Regions from separate parts of the Homo sapiens genome. Here region 1 is linked to region 2. Evidence: promoter capture Hi-C in human tissues and cell types (Jung and others, 2019). All regions are on one chromosome and are shown on one strand. Each heading gives the region's core, a stretch centred on a gene start or on the middle of the fragment in contact. The rest is flanking DNA. Distances are from core to core; before and after follow the strand shown. Region 1 overlaps PAK5 (p21 (RAC1) activated kinase 5). Region 2 holds the start of LAMP5 (lysosomal associated membrane protein family member 5).

Evidence for each region. The method cuts DNA at HindIII sites, captures the fragments that hold promoters and counts their contacts. A contact is called where the count stands out against the background at its distance.
Region 1: a fragment that was not itself captured here is called in contact with the fragment with the promoter of LAMP5 in region 2 in 6 of the 25 tissues and cell types used here (H1 embryonic stem cells, IMR-90 fibroblasts, aorta and 3 more).

The regions. Positions count from the first base shown.
Region 1 is chr20:9,580,333-9,587,445 of GRCh38, reverse strand. PAK5 (p21 (RAC1) activated kinase 5) reads left to right here. Exons shown (of 10, transcript NM_177990.4): 4 at 6,516-7,113. All of the region lies in intron 2 of LOC105372523 (a long non-coding RNA gene), which reads right to left. Among named protein-coding and RNA genes, the nearest start is that of LAMP5-AS1, 69 kb to the right of the region's middle. The HindIII fragment of the contact is 8,917 bases long and covers 383-7,113 here.
Region 2 is chr20:9,510,313-9,516,449 of GRCh38, reverse strand. LAMP5 (lysosomal associated membrane protein family member 5) reads right to left here and starts at 1,860. Exons shown (of 6, transcript NM_012261.4): 1 at 1,534-1,860; 2 at 825-997; 3 at 319-450; 4 at 89-194. The coding sequence starts at 1,597. LAMP5-AS1 (LAMP5 antisense RNA 1) reads left to right here and starts at 1,452. Exons shown (of 5, transcript NR_109957.1): 1 at 1,452-1,686. RefSeq lists enhancers at 341-925, 5,244-5,293. The HindIII fragment of the contact is 16,129 bases long and covers 1-6,137 here.

The sequences.
Region 1 (7,113 bases), core at 3,592-6,091, 68 kb before region 2:
CGTTTTTAAGAAGAATAACTATAGAATGCTGATTGTTAATTTGAAAGTATTCCGCTTTTTAGATCTCAGAAGGAATATTTATGTAACAATTGTAATTAATTTGAGATACATCTGTTTAAATTCAAGAAATATGTATTTTGTATCTAAAGTTACTAATAGTACTTTAAAGTCTCCCACATCAATTATCCCTTTTTTCCCACCATATGAAGCTAGATTTATTTCTTCTAGGTGTTGTTTGTAGCTTCCTTTCTTCTTCATTTATTATCAACCTAATTTAAAAGTAAAATTTACCACTGCAGCCCGCCACCCCGCCCTGGCCAATAGTTAAGTAACTAGCACTTATAAGTACTTTGTATACGTCAGGAATCATGCCAAGTTTTTTACACATATTACTGTATTAAATAATCACATTAACTCTGTGAGGTAAGGATCTAGTCTCAATGTTTTATGGATTAAGAGACAGTGACTTAAAAAGGTTTGATAACACTTAATATTACCTATCTCATAAGTGCTATAAGCCTAAGATACAAAATAATGATAATAAATACTACATTTTTAAACAATGTTTCTTATCAATTGGCAGTCTTTGTCATTTCTTCTAAATAGCATTTAGCTTATAGCAGTATTAATATTTTTCTCGGGATACCTGGTGACAAGTGCACAGAAAGAGCAGGTCCCCAGTTCTGAGGCCACACATTAATTCACATGATGAAATAGTGACCCTCTAATCTCCTATAGAAATGTTAATGAACACACTTGGGAGACAAAAAATCCCTATGAAATTGTATTGATTCCTTTTGTTTATTAATTTCCTAAATATAAGATATTTATAGCACGATTAATGACTGAAAAAGCTCTATTTAATAGGCCTTCATTATGTTGTTCTTAGTAATCTAAAAATATTGATAGGTAGTATAGGCCTAGACACATAGATACTATAGTTCTGTTTTTTATCCATCTATAGATATTTTAGGATAAATAGATGCCTCTTTTTGACATGTAAATTTTATTATTTCAGTATTTCTCAAAAATGAAGTGTTAGTTTAAAGTCTACCCAATCAACTCATTAATCAAATTGGAAGGGTTTTAGTGTAAAAATAGGGAGATTTAAGGGACCTGTAACTTCCAAAGGAGGTGTTCAATAATGCTCTTATCTCAAAGGAATCACACAGGGAATGATTTTTTTTCCTTCTAAATTACCTGTGTCCTAGTGGTGAATTTCTAACACTAACAGTCTACCCCCCATCACAGACATTTGTTAATTTGTGAAGATGAACTAATAGGTTTTTTGGACATAAATTCCAAACAAATAATTGGGATACCAATTTGATATGAGCAGAGAGCCTTTCTTCTGTATTCACAATTTCCATCCTGACCCCAAAGATGGTAGCATCTGAAGGCATACAGATCACCTCTGAGCCTCAGTTGTCCAGTAAATGATGAGCTGGTGATTATCTCTTTTTTCTCTCTCTCTAGTTACATCTATTGCTTCCTCCTAGATGTGCTTCATAGTTCTTTTCTTCCAGAAACTTTCCCTAGACTTTTAGCTTGCTTTTCTCTGATCATTTTTTAAATAATCTTCATGCTTTTCTTAGCCTTCATTGATGAATGTGTAGAAATGTTCTTAATTCATATCATATTTACAAATTTCCGTCCACTGAAGGCAGTGTTTTCGTTGAGGGCATTAGGATGTTTTAAAACTGTTCTCTAGCACCTCCTTCTATCTGCAGCTACAATTCTAGGGGGAAGGGGATCACTAAATACCATCAAGTGATAATATCCCTATTACAAATAAGAGAACAGGTAATGAAATAAAGAATGAAATTAAATCACATAGCAAGTGTGCACTGAAATTGAAATTGGAATCTAGAATTATCCATATTCCGTACATTCAGCAACTAATTTCTGAGAGTGGAGCGCACGATAGAAATATGCACCACAATGACCAATGGCCAATTTGCTGGGTTGTGATGTCACACACCAACGTTGCATTGCTTACTGGTAATATTTTGTTTAGCCTAAAAGAGTCTAAAGCATACCATAGAAAGAGACCTAGACTGGGAGAAAGGAGACTTGGGTTCAAATCCCCTGTTTGTTAAATATTGTTGGCAAAGTCAACTCCAGGTTTCAGGTTTTACTCAGTAAAAAGAAGAGGTGACCTAGACTCTTTCCAAAATTAAGATGCTGGAAGTGATTCCATGGTAGCAGACTGAATATTTTGTGTATTCAGAGATGGGAAGGCATGGGGGGCAGGCAAGAAAGAATAATTGGAATATTGTTTAAGATGGATAGAATTTAAAGAAATAATATTTTTCTAGGATATAGAGCTAAAGGTAACATTGAATATGAAAAAAATCTAATATAGTTAAGCATTGTTTATCAAGTTCAGAGAAAGTCTGGATAAGATAAGATTTTTGCTAAAGGATTATCCGAGTAGATCCAGTGATTCAGAAGGGCCCTTTAAGACCTTGGTGTGCCTTACACTCATTACCCATGTGGCACATCTGTCAACACAAATGCCTGGGATTAAACACACCAGGAAGCTCTTTTGGAGGAACCATGAATTCCTGATGACATTTTGTTTGAGTAACCTGCCTATTGTTCATAAAGAGAGGGAGTAGAAAATGTGCAAGAGTATAATTTCTGTCCAAAAGGAAAAACTTTTAGTTGATACACTGTGATACAAACAAACTGTTTCTGTTTTCTTTTAAAAAACAGTGCAAGACATTATTGAATAGGAAAGGAGGCCAGAAGTTTAAATCCATAGAAGGAAGCAGAACAGATGTCTAAGAGGGCTTGAAGGCCACCCTGAGGAAATAGAGAAGTGGTAAACAAGGCCAGGCGCTGTGGCTCACGCCTGTAATCCCAGCACTTTGGGAGGCCAAGGCGGGTGGATCACGAGGTCAGGAGTTTGAGACCAGCCTGACCAACATGGTGAAACCCTGTCTCTACTAAAAATACAAAAACTAGCCAGGCGTGGTGGTGAGTGCCTGTAATCCCAGCTACTGGGGAGGCTGAGGCAGGAGAATTACTTGAACCCGGGAGGCGGAGGTTGTAGTGAGCCAAGATCATGCCACTACACTCCAGCTTGGGTGACAGAGCAAGACTCTTTCTCAAAAAATAAAATAAAATAAAATAAAATAAGTGGTAAACAGGGAAGATACAACTGAAATGAAATAGGAAGCTGCTGAAAGAGACTTGATATTTTTAAGGCTGAGTTATAGCTGTTTCATCTTTCCTCTGCCAAGGCTGCTCATCTTTTACTCTTCACAGTTATTGTTTCTCCCAAGTTAATCTGTGGGGTGAGGATGGATGTTGTTCCTCTGAGGAAAGGTCCCAGGTTATATACATGATTCTTTCTTTCTCTAAGGGAGGCTCCAACAGAGCATCCCCTACTTTGGCAATCAATCCATCAATTTATGCACCACCCTCAACAATGACTACATTCCATATAATGAATTCCACACTATGGAATAAAAAAGGAATAGGCAAAAAAAAGACTAGGATATTAGTTTATGAACACTGACTATATTATGCTCAGTGAAAGAAGTCAAGCTGAAAGGCTCCAGACTGTATGATTCCATCCATATGATATTCTGGAATAGACAAAACAATAAGGACAGAAAACAGATCAGTGATATCAAGGGTTTGGGGAGAGGGTAATGTTTGACTAGAGGAAACTCAGGAGATATTTTTGCAGCTGGTGGCACTAATTTGTATGGCACTCTAACAGTGAATACATGATGCTTTGCACTTGTCAATACCCATAGAGCTTTGCAGCACAAAGAGTTAATTAATGTACGTAGTTTCAAAAAACAACAAAAAATAAACCAGAAGATCAGAGGATCCTGGGATAGAATGCAGAATGTGACCAAAGAATCCAACAGCTATACATTTATAACATAACCTCATTGAAGGGGGTGCAGGAAAAAAGACACTAACTTAAGGAACTTTGGAAACAGTGCTTTGAATGCAAACTATAAGTGTAAAGGAATTTTAAAGAACTGGACTTAAACATGGTACTTGAGTTGACAAAGTTGTTTCTCATGGTAGAGTGAGTTAATCTGAAACTGCTGAACAGTTATACTAGCACTGAATAGGCAAATGACTGGCAGATGGTGGGGCCCATGTTTTTTACTGTTGCAGAGGAAGTTACAGGTAAGGAAATGGCAAGAATGAATTATGTGGTACTTGATTAGATTCAGAGACATTAATGTGGATTTATGTTTAGGTTAATATAGATACAGATGGATGGATATAATTATAGGTGTGTGAGTGTGTTCATGAGTTAGTCTACAAACATATTATTTCGGAGCTCTGTTTGCTGAGGCCTGGCAATGACACCCAGTAGCAATGAGTATTCCTGGAACCAAATCTTAATTTCTAATACTATTAGCGTTCCTTGGAGAAATGCCTGATTTGGGGGGAAGGGCAGGGAAAATAAAAGATAAACCTGGAGCTTCTTGTAGGGACAGAAAGTAAGGAAGTGCTCAAAAAATAAAAGGAAGAGGGATCATCAAAGGGACACAGCAGCCAGCCTGAGAGAACTCCCAGTGACAAAAGCTGGAACCATTTGAGCAACAAGGCAAATAACAGAGTGTTGGCTTATAACCCAAAGTATAAAATAAATAACCATAAGTCCATCCATCCTTATATATAAATAAATGATTGAATGAGTAGGTAAATGGGAGCAAATAAGCAAGTCTCCTGTGCAGAAGAATTCCAACTACTTTATATAGATACCCTACCCCCACCACACACACACACCCAAGAAGATAAAGCTTAAATCCCTGACCCTTGAGTAGACGCTACACTTACTGACTTGTTCCCAAAGAATACAATATACAGAAAGCTAGGGAAGGGGAGTGTGACTGTGTGTATAAGAAACCTGGAAAATATGACCTCACCCAGGTAGTCAGGGCTAACATCATCATTCCTAAGTCGTGTCGACGATATGTACCCTAAACATTATGCGATGAAATGTGACTTGACTCTCTGATCTTCCTCCTCAAACCAAATAACCTCTGTTTAAACATGGGAAAAACACCAGAAAACCCCAATGGAGGAACATTCTCCAAAATACCTCACCAGTACTCCTCAAAACTGTCAAGGTCATCAAAAAATAAGGAAAATCTGAGAAACTGTCACAGATCAGAGGAAACTCGGAAGATATAACAAATAAATGTAATGAACTATCCTGGATGGGACTCTAGAACCCTAGGAGAAAATTAATGAAATCTATAGGAACATGGAGTTTCCTTAATAGCAATGCAAGATATTAACTCAAGGGGAAACTGGATGAGAAGTCTATGAGAACTCTGTATTCTCTTTGCAACTTCTCTGTTAATCTAAAACTATTCTAGAATAAAAATTTTATTTGAAAGAAAAGGGTATAGTACAAAACTATTAGTCCAGGACTCTTGGAAAGAAAAAAAATAAACCCTTTGTTTCACCATGGATAGATCTATAAAACATCAGCTCCAGGACAACTTTGACTTCTTCCTCCAGTTTGAAATCTTCTATTGTACCATCCAAGATAGTTTTGAACTCCTTGCTACTTGCTCAAAAGTATTTTTCTCCTAAAATCCTGGAAGTCTGAAGTCACAACACTTTGTTCTTTGTTCTTTTATCCACCCCCATCATATTTGCCTGCAAATCCTGTCATTGTCAAGGCACGGCTGACGGGCTTTGTAAGTGGTTTGCGATGTCTTTCAGTTCCTGGTATTCTTGTGTTATTTAGGTTCATTAAAGGGAACAATTTGTCACTAAGATCCAGGTGCAACCATCATTACTAAGCCATCCAAAATTCAGCGGTGATGTTACACAGAAGTGTGGCCATAACAAACAAGCAGTATAGTATAAGTATATATACTTAATAAGAATATCACATTTGATCATAAATCACACAAATAATCTTCAGTCTGTTTCCTAATTACAGTTTCAGGAAGTGCCTGCCTCATCCATAAAATTTCATAACCTCAGTTATTATGTCTTCCATATAAGGGCAAAAAATGTACACCCATTTCTAGTTATGTTAATAGTTGGGTGATAATGCCTTCTGGTTTTGAAAATCATCTGAATAATGAATGTAAAACAGTAATAAATATTATTTTTTATTACCAAACAGTTATAGAGTGTTAAATTATAATTATCAGCTCATCATTAGGTGGTTAGGGCTTATTATTTAGGTAGAAGAAGTAGGGGGAAGGGATTTGCCTGTAAACTGGTAAATAAAACAGTTATATTCTATGTAGTCTCCTACATGGCTTTTTGATGGTTATTTGATGTCTCTGTTGAGATAGGTAAGAAGAAAAATGCAATTTGAGATTGTTTACTATTTGATTTATTTCACCACTGAAGTCAATCAACACATTTTCTTTATCATTTTGTGTTAAGTGTTCCCGGGGTCTTTTTTCTTCTGTAGTTTAATTTGGATGGAGTGGGGGTGGGATGCCACCATCAATTTAAATCCATGAAATATTTTCTTTAAACAATATTCCCTCTATTATTCCCAGACAATCGTTAGAGGAAACAAACCCTGCAAGGAAACCTCCATCAACGGCCTGCTAGAGGATTTTGACAACATCTCGGTGACTCGCTCCAACTCCCTAAGGAAAGAAAGCCCACCCACCCCAGATCAGGGAGCCTCCAGCCACGGTCCAGGCCACGCGGAAGAAAATGGCTTCATCACCTTCTCCCAGTATTCCAGCGAATCCGATACTACTGCTGACTACACGACCGAAAAGTACAGGGAGAAGAGTCTCTATGGAGATGATCTGGATCCGTATTATAGAGGCAGCCACGCAGCCAAGCAAAATGGGCACGTAATGAAAATGAAGCACGGGGAGGCCTACTATTCTGAGGTGAAGCCTTTGAAATCCGATTTTGCCAGATTTTCTGCCGATTATCACTCACATTTGGACTCACTGAGCAAACCAAGTGAATACAGTGACCTCAAGTGGGAGTATCAGAGAGCCTCGAGTAGCTCCCCTCTGGATTATTCATTCCAATTCACACCTTCTAGAACTGCAGGGACCAGCGGGTGCTCCAAGGAGAGCCTGGCGTACAGTGAAAGTGAATGGGGACCCAGCCTGGATGACTATGACAGGAGGC
Region 2 (6,137 bases), core at 611-3,110:
CGGTTTCCAAAACCTTGAGGAATTCTCTCTCCAAGCCTGTTCTGCGAGTTCCCAGGCTCCCTCCCCAGCCATGCCAGCCTCCACTCACCACTGACTGCGTCTTTGAAGTGGGTTTTCTCCGAGGAGTCGTAGACAAACTGCACTTTGCTCAGCCTCCAAGTCGCCTCAGGTCCCTTGGACATGTTGTGGCTTTCCTGTTGAGCCGGGGAGGTGCGCTTCAATCGTCCCCGCAGCGTCTGGGTTCTTAAACCTAGGGGCCGCCACTTCCCACACCCACGCGGAGCCTGCGGCCCCTCTGCCCGCTGGGCTCGGAGTTACCTTTACAAAGAGCATTTTGAGTGCATATGCGCGATCCACCCAGAACACTTGCAGCTCCGACTGGCTGTGGCCACAGCGGCCCTTCACCTCAGCTCCCCGGGTCAATGCGATATCGGCCTGTTCTGTGATCAGCTGGGAACACAGACGCCCCGCGCCCCCTCAGCTCGCCCGGCCCCGGGGCGGGGGCTGTAAAGGGCGGCGCGTCCAAACTCTGGGTTGCACGCTTGGGCGCTCCTTTGCGCGCGCGCATCCCAGGTTCCGGGAACATGCGGTTAGATGCTCTACGTGCAGCCCCGATAGGGAAGCGGAGAGAAGGGGGTTTACTTTCAAAGCAGGCAGGGGAACAGAAGGCATTACAAGCTGGAATCCCCATGCAGCATTCGGGAGCAGCCTGCCGGGGTGTGGGAAAGAAGGCGGGCAACCCAGGTCTTCGAAGAGCCTTGAGGAAGGGTGCCCTTCGCCCTGGAGCCCTAGGAGCAAGCTGAGGGGGGGGAAAGATTCCTTACATCTACGTAGTTGCTGGCCCACACATCATAAGGTACAATAAATTTGGCTGCAAACTCTGCCATGAGACACGTCGTCCCATTTTCCCGCACCACAAATATATCTTTTTCAGGGTTAGTGGAAAGGCCTGAGAGATTTTCCACTTCTTGTTCTGCCATGATTTGAGCCATTGTATCTGCGGAACAAACAAAACAATTCCATCAGTTCAGGGCTCAGCCCACGCGTCTCGGGCGCTAGGGTGGGGAGACAGTGCTCTGCAGGCTTTGGAGTGACAAAGTTCTCTGCCAGCAGCTGTGCGCTCTACGAGCCGTTTCTCTAACCCGGGTCTAACAAGCCTCATTCCTTCGCTGTTAATTTATAATGAAAATACAGTTAAAAAAATTAAAAATCCTGACTTTGTTTGTAATATAGCTGGCTGTTTTCTACATCTTGGGATTTTAAAGTAAATATTTCTTGCCAATGCTCTGACCTCACGAAGCTGGCCTGTCTAGGCTCTGTCTGGAATATGCCACAGAGGTGTATGGCTCTCAGGGGAATTCCCTGCCACCGGCGAGGAAGGCCCTCCCTCCTCCCCTAAAAGAAAAAAAGAAAAAACACCGCAAAACATTAAGGGCCATATTTTTTATCTCAAGCTAATTGACTTTACTTTGCCGGCTCTGTTCTCTGCAAAGAGTGCCCGTCCTCTCTCCCAGTCGCCAAATCGCTACTCACGGAACAACATCAGGAGAACTCGAAGTCTGTCGATGCTGGGGACCCCTCTTCCTTGGAGATCCATACTCGCAGTGCCCCGAATGAGGCCGGCTGTGCTGCTGCAGAGGCCGCCAGAGAGGGAATCCCTCAAAGTCGCCGCTGGAGTGGGCCGGGGTGAGCGAGAGGCGGGGGACAGAGAAGGGGGAGGGAGGGAGCGCGTATTCTGTGAGCGCCTAGCTAGGACTCGGTGTCGAGCGCGGCACCGACAGCTGCTGGCAGAGCAAATCGGCTCACTGCGGAGGAAAGGACCGCACGGCGGTCCACGGCTGCGAGTGCTGAAAGCAATCCGATTGTGTGGCAGGAGTGGCTGTGGCTTGGCTTGTGCGGAGGGCCAATGAGATCTGGGGGGACTAAACTTCTCCCTGGGTCTGTTTCCTGTTCTGCAACTGCATCCGCAAAGATGAGTCTGTTCTGAGAAACTTAATACCACCCTCAGCCTTATTAAATCTCCTTACCAGGTACAGTTATTAAGTGGTGTAGATACCTTATCACTGGAGTACTGTCTTCTGAAAACGCATCTGGTTCCCGAAAGAAAACGGTGGAGCAAAAATTGTTGCTGATTCGGGGGAGGAGGGCTATGCAGGAATAGAGAAGGGAAAATGCTATGGCAACAGTTTCCTGAATTTGGAGACATCCCCTTCTCTCCCCTGCTCTCAATGAGCTCATGGGTTTAAAGTTAAATTGACGCCTCCTCGAACGAGGCCATCAGACAATGCAGTAGCTCCATGTGGGCTTATTTTCCTGTGAATTTTGCTCCCGGGTGCATGAGGACTCTGAACTCTGGGGTCACCTACCCTCCCGCATTATACTGTGACCACTCTGCCAAAAAGGGATGCAAGCAAATCAGAAGTTTTTGAGAGTTATCTAGTGTCTCCTAGGACAGAAATTTTAGAATTATGCCCTAAGTAATGTCACATAGTTATGTAAGAAAAACACACACTGATATTACTCTAAAGCCTGTAGTGGAACAGAAGAACAAATACTACTGGGCTAATTCCTGTATTTACATATTTGGTAGCTTGCTTATTTTTTATTTTTGCTCTGTAAATCAGAATACAGCTTTCAAAAATACACATGCAGTCCTCATCAATTGTAGTGATGTCCAAATATTTTATTCCTTAGAAGATATTTCATAATGCAAATAAATGTTGCATCAGTAATATAATGTTATAAAACAATGTCATATTAAAGGGAAAATTGCAAAGTATTTCACCTGCATTATCTAATTTGATTCTCCCCAATCTTAGAGGGTAGGCAAGGAAAGATATGAGTTACTGTGGTTTTACATACCCCAAAACTGAGGCTCAAATAAATTAAATGACCTTCCCAAATGTCACATGGTCAGTTAGAATTAAAATACAAAAATCACATGCTTTAACTCTGTGAGATTATCTTCATTTCTCCTTATATAATATTTTTACTCCATATTTTGACTTCCATAAAAATCTATATTCAATATCAAATAATAATCTGAAATCTGAAATCTCTATCATTAATTCACATTCTTCAAATTTATAGAATGCTGTTTTAAGTATAATCACATTCTGACATATCTGCCACAAAGTATCTATATAATGTTTTTGGCTTTCAAACATATTCCTATATCAATCATTAGATCACTAGCAATTCAAAGTATAAAGTAATATTAAAATTGACATTATATTTTGACATCTTGACTTTTATGTTTGTAGTTCAGTATTTCATCCAAACATTTCTCAAGAACTTTACAAAGATGATTATATATAGAAGAATTGATGCAAATTTTACAGAACTTAACAGAAATGATTTTATACAGAAGATTGATAAAACGTCAGTTCTCATCAGTTGAAAGTGGAAGAGATAACATTTGTATGTGTTACATTTTTTCATGTTAGCAATTATTATTAAACACTTATTTTCCTGTAGTACTGTAAAACTGGAAAACAATGAGACATGTAATAAAGTATTTATTCTCTCTCTCTCTCTCTCTCTCCAGTATTTTATGAGGACAGAAATGAGTAGATTTCAGTCCAGGATTCACTACTTATTATTTTTGTGACCTTCTGAAGATTTTATTTGTTCTCATCTGAAAAATTGGGAAAATAACTCAGGGGATGGCTAGTTAAACCAAATGGGCCAATGAGTATAAATAAACAAAGTACAAATAGATCCATAAACATTAACCGAATACTTACTACTTCCAGTATGCTTGATGCTTTGAAAACCAAAAGATATTTATCATTACACAAGTAGGAGAGACACCTATAAAAGATTTTGACAATTTCTCTTGCAGTATGTTATTGCAGATATCTTCACTATATAAGTTGTTAAAAGATCAACTGAATTAATTCATGATTATCTGCCTTAATAATAAAAGATTAGGTGAGTAGTAGCATTGGTCATTGATCTTAAAATGTAGTAGTTGATTTACAAATGAGATGGTTGTTCCTTTGAAAATTATACCTGATATAAATGATCTCTTTGTTGACACTGGAGAGTGTACCCTAGAGTACTCAAATGGGTTGAAAGAAGAAAGAAAGCAATTTTAACTCTTTTTTTCTGGGGGGATTATTTTCAAAGCACAATCAGTTTAATGACTTTTTTAATATTTAATCTTAAACATGGCTAACAAATGCCCATTAATTTATCATCTTATCCACTGTGATACATTGCAATAGGAGTTAGGTCATTATACCTACAACTTTCACCTACATTAATTAAATATCTTTCTAATCATTCTGGAAAAAAACTCTTTGGTTCTCTAAAATAAGCAAAGAAGTGATCAAGGAGCAAAATTTGCCATTAAATTGCATTTTAATATATTAACAATGTTCCCCAGAATTTGCTCTACTTTTCATTTCTCAAGTCTAAAAGATGGTAGGAGAAATTGACATAAATATGTACACCTGTGTGGGTGGTAACTGTGTCAATTTTTATTATTGCTGCTGGTGGTCAGTAGAAACTGTTAGGGTGCAGTGTGACCTAAACACACTGGATTTGGGATCTCCTCTAGATCTTCTAGGTCCTTCAAAGGCTGTTTTTCAATTCATATGGATACTTACTGAATTAGCCTTTATGAATCTCATGCCATTGAGTGGTTGCTGTTTTATAAAAGGGCAAGAAGAGGCCCTTGCATAGAACTTTCAATTTGGATGAGAAGAATTTACATAAAGATTCCAGTTAGCCTAGCACAGTGTCTGCATAAATGTTCAGGGGGAAAAAAAAGTAAGACAGGCATCCCAGGTGGGAGAGTGGTTGAAATTGATGAAAAAAGGTCTCTTGGAGAAGGTGAGTCTTGAAAGAAGTTGACAAACTGATGTAGGGTGGAAGGAAGGATACGGATGGAAGAAATATCTATTGAATAGGGAATCAATGCAAAGATGTAACTCTTCATCCATCCATATTTATCCATTTGCAATAAAAAGCAAATTAGGCCGTAAATCAACAATGCCTTATGTACTATAGAACCCCTATTTCATTTCCGTATTTGATAATTTACCCACATATGGCATATGCAAAAGAATGGCCTATGCAAAATTTATTCTAAATAAAATTAAACTTTTTAAGTTGTTAGGGGCATCTTTTCATACTTGGTTGTGCAAGCAATTGACTTGTATTTGTAGAATCAAGAAACAAAACTATGAAAATTAGTGAACAATACTAATAAGAAAAGCGTATTTATAGCTTCAAAAGGAAAAGGCTGGGCTTTGTTGCAGCTGAAATTTGGTTTATTGAGGTTTCAGTTCACTTTACAGTAAAGTGTAAAAATGTACTCCTTGCTCTGTTGTTCCCACAGCCACCAAGCCATCCCTCTGCAACCCACACACAGACAACGGACGCACACCCGAATAACAGAAGCAGAAATAATTTAAACAAACAAGATGCATGCAGCTGTTAAGCCAGACTTTCTACTCACCAAAACTTTTCTTGTGTTCAGCTTATCATAGAACAATTAATTCATTTAGTCATTGCCTTCAAAGACCTTCGCAACCCTTTCTAGGATCTAAACTCTTGTGGGACAGAAACTGAAAAATAAATGTATGCACAAGAATTATTTTTCAGTTTCTATCCCACAAGGGTTTAGATCCAGAGCAAAGAGTACAAAAATAAGTGTGCGCATGAGCAATGTATGCACAAGAATATTTCGCACATACATTGCTAAGCCCTAGAATATTTGGAAAGAATCAGAAAATTGAGTTTAGGCTCCAATGCACTCAGTCTGCATGCCCTTGGTGTAATTTTCCTCATCCTAGTGCTTCTTTGGTGTCTCCTGCATCTACTCTAATGAAACAATGGTTATTTCTGCAATAACGGTAACCAGTGGAGGAAACAAACCACCAGAATAACGGCCTTTTTATTGGCTATGTTCACACTAAGTCCTGAAAAAAATACCATTTATGAGTTCATTTAGAAGAATTGCCTTCAGCATGGGGCAATATAGAGAACTGCATCCTTATAGCAAACCCTAAATAAGTAAATGGTGAGGGGCCAGGTAATCATTCCTCAAAATTTCAGTAGCAAATAAATCATTTTTGTCTTTTGAATCCGTGATTAGTTAACTGTTCTGGTCAGTCTTACATTTTTGG